2 separate regions of the Homo sapiens genome follow, and region 2 is linked to region 1. Evidence: promoter capture Hi-C in human tissues and cell types (Jung and others, 2019). All regions are on one chromosome and are shown on one strand. The core of a region is centred on a gene start or on the middle of the fragment in contact, and the rest is flanking DNA. Distances in the headings are between cores, read along the strand shown.

Region 1 (4,225 bases), core at 1,726-4,225:
ACTTACCAGCTCTGTGACTCTGGTCTAGTCTTTAAACCTCTCTTTAAAATGGGGTCATAATAGCGTCTACCTCTTATCATTGTTACAAAAAGTCAAAGAGCACCTGGCTCAGTGGCTCACACCTGTAATCCCAGCACTTTGAGAGATCAAGACGGGCAGATCACCTGAGGTCAGGAGTTTGAGACCAGCCTGCCCAACATGGCAAAACCCCATCTCTACTAAAAATACAAAAATTAGCCCAGTGCATGCCTGTAGTCCCAGCTACTACGGAGGCTGAGGCAGGAGGATGGCTTGAACCTGGGAGGCGGAGGTTGCAGTGAACCAAGATCGTGCCACTGCACTCCAGCCTGGGTAACAGAGTGAGACTCCATCTCATTTAAAAAAAAAAAAAAGTCAAAGAGATAATATGTGTAAAATGCTTATTCCAGTGCCTGGGATGAAGCAAGGGTTTGACAAATGTGGTCATTATTATCACAACTGTCTTTATCTCTCTGCACCTCTACTTCCTCTGCTGCAGACCTGGGGTTGATATGCATCCTCCAAGTATCTGTGGCAGGCAGACTCTAGAATGGCCTCCATTGATTCACATCTTTTGGTATTCATGCCCTTGTGTAATCCCCTGTGGGCAAATCCTGTGACTTGCTACTAACAAATAGAACATGGCAAAACTGATGTCACTTTCTTGATTAGGTTACATGAGGTTGTAATTTCTCTCTTCTTAGTAGAATCTCCTATTGCCTCCTTTTGTTTGTTTGAGACAGGGTCTTGCTCTGTTGTGCAGGCTGGAGTGCAGTGGTGTGATCACAGCTAACTGCAGCCTCGAACTCCTGGGCTCAAGCAATTCTCCTGCCTCGACCTCCTAAGTAGCTGGGACTACAGGCATGCACCAGCATGCCTGGCTAATTTTAAATTTTTTTTTGTAGAGACGAAGTCTCGCTATGTTGCCTAAGATGGCCTCAGACTTCTGGGCTCAAGCAATCTTCCCACCTTAGCCCCCCGAAGTGTTGGGATTATAGGCATGAGCCACGGTGCCCGGCCCCTATTGCCTTCTTTTATTTATTTATTTATTTTTAATTTTTAGAGACTGGGTCTTGCTATGTTGCTCAGGCTCAATTTGAACTCCTAGGCGCAAACAATCCTCCTGCTTCAGCCTCCCAACCTGCTGGAACCATAAGCATGTGCCACCACTCTTGGCTTCCCTATTAACTTTTAGGCTTGCATGCTTTGATGAAGCAGGCTGCTACACTGGAGAAGCCTACGTGACAAGCCTTTAGCCAAAATCCAGCTAGGAACTGAGACCCTTAGTCCAACAACCATTAAGGAACTGAATTTAGCCACTAGACATGGGAAGCAGATCCTTTTTGAGTTGAGCCTTTAAATGAGACTCCAGCCCTGGCCGATATCTTGATTGCAGTCTTGTGGGTGACCCTGATGCAGAGGAGCCAGCTATGCCATCCTCAGATTCCTGGCCCACAGAAAATGTGAGATAATAAATATGTTTGTTGGCCAGGTGTGGTGGCTCACGCCTGTAACCCCAGCACTTTGGAAGGCTGAGGCAGGCGGATCACGACGTCAAGAGATCGAGACCATCCTGGCCAACATGGTGAAACTCCGTCTCTACTAAAAATACAAAAATTAGCTGGGCCTGGTGGCTCATGCCTGTAGTCCTGCCTACTTGGGAGGCTGAGGCAGGAGAATCGCTTGAACCCACTGTAACCTCCGGGAGGCAGAGGTTACAGTGAGCCAAGATCACACCACTGCACTCCAGCCTGGTGACAGAGTGAGACTCTGTCTCAAAATAAATAAATAAATAAATGTGTTTGTTATAAGTGGCAAGCAGTGTGTTGTTATAAGTTTGTGGTAATATGTTATGCAGCAATACAAAACTAATATAATATCCAGCCCCTCTCATCTCATTTCTGGTTTACAGCCCATCTCTCCTATTTCCTTAGCACCCTGCATTCATCACACTGACTCATTGCTATTGGTTTTCTTGCACTTCCTATCCTGTAAGCCCCTTGAAGACAGGCACTGAACTAAGCATTCCTTGTAGCCCTAGTGCAGATAGCAGGGGTTGGCAGGAGTGTCCTGGGAAATATTTCACAATCCCAGGGTGGGGTTGTGTTCTCCATTCGGGGGCTTCTATAACACCCCAATAATGATGGTGGTTGGTTTTGAATTCTTACTGTGTACCAGGCACTGAGATGAAGCCAGGAATGTGTGTTCTTAACAAGTTTTCTGTGATGATTCTGATCCATAGTCAGGCTTAGGAACCACTAAACCTACATTACCTGAGACATTCTGTAGAAAAAATTGCATCCTTCTCTTAGGATAGCTATACTTGTAACTTCCTTAAACAAAACAGAACAAAACTGTATTGCATACATACAGAAAAATGCACAAATCTTAAGCGTACAATTTGATGAATTTTCCAAAGTGAACACATCTACATGGCTACCACCGAGATGAAGACAGGGGGTGACCCCAGCCTCACTTGTGGCCCCTCCCAGCCCACAGCCCCAGAGGAAACCACCAATTTTAACACCATCACTACTCATGAGTTCTGTCTGTTCTAGAATTTCCCGTAAATGAAATCGCAGTCTGTACTTGTACATCTGCTTAACATTATGTTCGTGCTTTTGACTTGTTAAAATTTCTCTTCTGGATTAAATATGTAAAACGGTGACTAAGGAGGTCGGGCAGAAGGTGGAAGCCTGGGATTCCGAGACGTCCTCTCAGGTGCCATACTTGGATTTCCCGAGAGGTGTAATCACACAGCCCGCCCTCAGCTGACCTATTCTCTGCTTAAGCAGGAAGGGAGATAGGAGGGGAAGGGGGCGTGGCTACAGACGCCGAGTGTGGGGCGGAGTCTTAAGAAGAGAGGCGCAACCCGGGTCCGGCTTCCCGGCGGTAGTTTGCTCGGCTCTGGGGGCGGGGCCAGGCCGAGACTTCCTGTCTGCTCCTGCGGAATCGCAGTTTGACCCCGGAAGTGCGGGCGCTCAGGGAGCTGTCACCGTGGTCGGCGGCGGCGGCGGCGGCGGCGGCACAGAGCCGGTGGTGGAGCCGCCGAGGTGAGTGCGTGGCTGGTCCCTGCCAGATGCAGGGCAAGGGACCCCGGAGGAGCCGCGGCTATGCCTTGGGCAGCCTTGGCTCTCCCATCCTCTGGCCTCCATTGCGGGGCCCACGCTTACGCTACCTGAGGGGTTGTGAGCCGCCTCTCGAGACTTGGCCGCCAGGGTCAGGAGCCACGGGTTCGAAGTTCGGCCCCAGAGTGGCGTTGGACCAGCCACGATCCCCCCACGTCCTCACACCCGGGGCTTCAGTTTCCTCAGGGTTCATTCATTCGTTCAGCAAATATTTGTGGAGTGCTTCCTATGTGCCAGACACAGATCTAGACATTGGGGATACAAAGAAAGCAAGACAGACAAGGCTTCTGCCCTCATGGAGCTTACAGTCTAGTGGGAGGAGATGGTCAACGACAAGCAAATGCACAAGGTCATTAAAGCTATGACAGTAACTGGGAGAGTGGATACTATAGGCAGAGCCATCAGAAGGTCTCTGAGGAGAGTAGTATTTAATTGAGAGACTAGAGGAATGATGACAAAGAGGCTGAGGGAGCAGTAGCCCCGGGGATGCTCCCAGGCCATATTGCAATTGGGTGCTTGTAGGGAGCTCCCCCTCCCTTTCTTAGCTTTTGGCTTTTGCTGTCCTGCCTGGCAGGGGAATACAGTGGTGGGCACAGACATAGTCATGATTATTGTTTGTCCTTTTGGAGCTCAAAGTTCAGATTGTCCAGTTAATTTATTTTTTCCCCCCAAGACGGGGTCTTGCTCTGTCGCCCAGGCTGGAGTGCAGTGGCGTGATCTCGTCCCACTGCAACCTCCGCCTCCCGGGTTCAAGCGATTCTCCTGCCTCAGCCTCCTGAGTAGCTAGGATTACAGGCATGCACCACCACGCCCTGCTAATTTTTTTTTTTTTTTTCGGTAGAGACGGGGTTTCACCTTGCTAGCCAGGATGGTCTCGATCTCCTGGCCTCGTGATCCGCCCGCCTTGGCCTCCCAAAGCGCTGGGATTACAGGCGTGAGCCATCGCGCCCAGCCCTGCCTACTTAATTTGTACCCGTGCTTTAGACAAAAACTCAGGTCTTCCTTGACATCACTTCTTCCTCAAGCCAGGTCTCTCTTTTAAATGCTGCCACAGCTTCATGAGCCTTATCTACATAGCT
Region 2 (4,225 bases), core at 753-3,252, 57 kb before region 1:
GCGAGACTCCAACTCAAAAAAAAAAGAAAAAAAAGAAAAAGAAAAAGAAAAAAAATCTACTGAATTAGTACATGGTGTTTGTTAACTTATTCTCCATATTTTTCTAAATTTTTTAAATATTTAAATTTTACTTTAAAAAAATAAGCCAAGGTTGTGGAATTCAGAGACAGACAGGCTTTGTAGATTCTATATGGGATTTGTGTGTGTGTATGTGTGTGTGTGTGTGTGTGTGTGTGTGTGTGTGAGACAAGCCTGTTATTCTGTACTATAAAATTTTTAACTAAAAAAAAATTATATTATTAGTTTGGTGCAAATGTAATTGCAGTTTTTGCACTGTTGAAATTTGCCATTTAATACTGGAATACACTCTTAAATAAATGGTTATGTTATACATCATTTTAATGCACATTTCTTGCCTTTTCTTGCTAATAACGTATTTTTTGCTTTTTTTTTAGACTATGGAAATTATGTTAGACAAAAAGCAAATTCAAGTGATTTTCTTGAGTTCAAAATGGGTCGTGAAGCAGTGGAGACAACTCACAACATCAACTACACATCTGGCCCAGAAACTGTGCAGTGGTGGTTCAAGAAGTGTTGCAAAGGAGACGAGAGCCTTGAAGATGAGGAGTGTAGTGGCCGGCCAGAAGTTGGCAATGACCAACTGAGAGCAATCATCGAAGCTGATCCTCTTACAACTACACGAGAAATTGCCGAAGAACTCAATGTCGACCATTCTACCCTTGTTTGGCAGGCAATTGAAGCCAACTGGAAAGGTGAAAAAGTTTTTTTTGTTTGTTTGTTTTTGAGATGGAGTCTCACTCTATCACCTAGGCTGGAGTGCAGTGGTGTGATCTGGGCTCACTGCAACCTCTACTTCCTGTGTTCAAGCGATTCTCGTGCCTCAGCCTCCCTAGTTGCTGGGATTACACATGCCCGCCACCATGCCCAACTAATTTTTGTATTTTTAGTAGACATGGGGTTTCACCACGTTGGCCAGGCTGGTCTTGAACTCCTGGCCTCAAGTGATCTGCCCACCTCCGCCTCCCAAAGTGCTGGGAATACAGGCGTGGGCTACCACGCCCAGCCAAAAGGTGAAAAAGCTTGATAAGTGGGTGCCTCATGAGCTGACCGAAAATTTTAAAAATTGTCGATTTGAAATGTTGTCTTCTCTTATTCTACGTAACGACGACGAACCATTTCTTGGTTGGATTGTGATGTGCGACAAAAAGTGGATTTTATACAACAACAGTGATGACCAGCTAAGTGGCTGGACCGAGAAGACACTCCAAAGCACTTCCCAAAGCCGAACTTGCACCAAAAAGTGGTCATGGTCACTGTTTGGCGGTCTGCTCCTGGTCTGATCCACTACAGCTTTCTGAATCCCAGTAAAACCAATACATCTGAGAAGTATGCTCAGCAAATCGATGAGATGCACTGAAAACTGCAATGCCTGCAGCCAGCACTGGTCCACAGAAAGGGTCCAATTCTTCTCCACAACCACCCGACAACACGTTGCACAACCAACATTTCAAAAGTTGAATTGGGCTACGAAGTTTTGCCTCATCCACCATATTCAACTAACCACTCGCCAACCGACTACCACTTTTCCAAACATCTAGAAAATTTTTTGCAGGGAAAATGCTTCCACAACCAGCAGGATGCAGAAAATGCTTTCCAAGAGTTCATCGAATCTCAAAGCATGGATTTTTATACTACAGGTATAAACAAACTTATTTCTCATCGGTAAAAATGTGTTGATTGTAACAGTTCCTATTTTGATAAATGAAGATCTGTTTGGGCCTAGTTACAATGATTTAAAATTCACAATCCAAAACCACAATTAATTTTGCACCCACCTAACAGTACCTACATTTATTATTTCAACTGCTCTTCAACTTTTTTTTTTGAGATGGAGTCTCCCTCTGTCAACCAGGCTGGAGTGCAGTGGCACGATCTCAGCTCACTGCAACCTCCACCTCCCAGGTTCAAGTGATTCTCCTGCCTCAGCCTCCTGAGTAGCTGGGATTACAGATGCCCACCACCGCGCCCCGTTAATTTTTGTATTTTTAGTAGAGATGGGGTTTTGCCATGTTAGCCAGGCTGGTCTCAAACTCCTGACCTCACCTGCCCACCTTGGCCTCCCAAAGTGCTGGTATTATAGGCACGAGCCACTGCATCCAGCCTAATCTTACTCTTTAAAAGAATAAAGTAAGGGCCGATAATAACAAATGTCTTAACCCAGAAATCTAACCTTTTTGAATTATGTTATCCATTCACAGAAGCATTTAAAACACTACAAGTGTGCAGTAAACTAACAGCAAAAGCCAACAAGCTCTAATCACTTAAACTCTAGAGGATATGTGACACAGCTCTTCCTAAAATATCACCAGATGGCTATATAAACTTAGAACGGCTCAACTCCCAGCTGTATATTAACACCAAAACTCCAATAAGCCTATACTGTCATAATAAAAATCGTTTGCCTAAGCATCTTCCAATTCATATTAGATGTATTAATATAAACCATATCCCATCTGAGTTGCCACAACTCCATTTGATATTTAAAACATACCACAACACACACACACACACACACACACACACACACACGGATACAGAACTTGGGAGTTCGGGCTGAGTTCTGTGTTTACAGAGTGCATAGAAACTGATTTTTCTTAAGGTGTCTTTTATAATTCTCAATCAGCTTATTAAGAAGAAAAAAACTAGATGGCTCAGTCCTCTTGGGTTTAATTGTGATCAAATCCCAGAATGTCTTTAGTCATAGTGGAGTTCACAATGATAAAGTTCAAATCAGCTTACCTGCCCCACTCCTCCCATACTACTTCCTACCGCTGCCACTCCTCTTAGGAACTGGAGCCAGTTAACCACCCACTTTCTCAATGGTGAGTGCGACATAAACCTTCAGAAGACATCCAGTGAAAAATAAAGACTTTAAAATAGCAGTTTTTGGCTGAGCGTGGTGGCTCACACCTGTAATCCCAGCACTTTGGAAGGTCAAGATGGGCGGGTCACCTGCGGTCAGGAGTTCAAGACCAGCCTGGCCAACATGGCGAAATCCCATCTCTAAAAAATACAAAAAATCAGCTGGCTGTGGTGGCTTCTGCCTGTAGTCTCAGCTACTTGGGAGGCTGAGACACGAGAATGGCTTGAACCCAAGAGGTGGAGGTTGCAGTGAGCTGAGATCACGCCACTGCACTCCAGCCTGGGTGACAGAGTGAGACTCCGTCTTAAAAAATAAAAAATAAAATAAAATAGCAGTTTTTCCTACGTATAAAAGTAATACATGCTCGTTGTAGAAAAATGGGAAACTCTAAAAGAATAAGAAGCAAAAAAGCCACATTATCCCACCAAGACAGAAATTAATCACTACTAATATTTCCATTCATGGCCATCCAGGGTCTCTTCTATATATAAGTGTCTTAGTTCATTTACCAAACAGGATTTTAAATACTGCAGAACAAGCGGGAAGTAGCATACTAGTTCTTTGGAAGACTAATTTTCTTCATTGTAAAGTTACACTTACTGCTGAGTAAGTCAACCATATGTACAAGAAACTGGAGAGAATGACAAAGGTGAGGGGAATCATACCTGCTCTTTTTCATTCACTCACAGCAAACCATGGAGTCCATGTTTTGGGAACCATTATGTACGCAAAGACCAACTAATGAGTATGTTTCCTTTATAAATAGCAGCCTACTAAATAAACAAATACATACATACAAATATACAGTCTTGCCACAGGAGTTACACACACAGTGAAAGGAATGACATTAAGAGTATTTTTTTTGTCACCATGAAAGTATCTTAAGAGAAAGTAAAGGGATATGTGAAAGGTTGATCTAAAATTCAAGACCTCTTCCACGAAAATATTTTCTGTGCACATAAGATGAAGGAACAATCTCACTACGGAAAATATACCTGTTGGTTTTACAATGCTATAACTTATTTACATGTGTAAATAAATATGCAGGAGTTTAAATAGTCCACAAATATTGACAGCTTACTCTGTACCAGGCAATGTATTAACTGCTAGGGAGTAAGGGAGAGAACAGCCACCAGTCCCTATTTCTGCAGAACTTTCAGTCTACCTCTTGAAATATGATGTCAAACACTAGGCATGTGGTCTCAAGCAAGTCACAACAGTCCTGATTAAATGATGATCTCAAATCCTTGTGATGACCTAAGAAGATATATGTGAAAGTAG

What was found. The method cuts DNA at HindIII sites, captures the fragments that hold promoters and counts their contacts. A contact is called where the count stands out against the background at its distance.
Region 2: a fragment that was not itself captured here is called in contact with the fragment with the promoter of ASCC2 in region 1 in 2 of the 25 tissues and cell types used here (spleen and thymus).

What each region holds. Positions count from the first base shown.
Region 1 is chr22:29,837,024-29,841,248 of GRCh38, reverse strand. It overlaps ASCC2 (activating signal cointegrator 1 complex subunit 2), which reads left to right and starts at 2,975. Exons shown (of 20, transcript NM_032204.5): 1 at 2,975-3,071. RefSeq lists an enhancer at 2,643-2,702. The HindIII fragment of the contact is 14,310 bases long and covers 1-4,225 here.
Region 2 is chr22:29,892,889-29,897,113 of GRCh38, reverse strand. The region is part of intron 1 of MTMR3 (myotubularin related protein 3); the gene reads right to left. Among named protein-coding and RNA genes, the nearest start is that of MTMR3, 12 kb to the right of the region's middle. The HindIII fragment of the contact is 5,497 bases long and covers 1-4,225 here.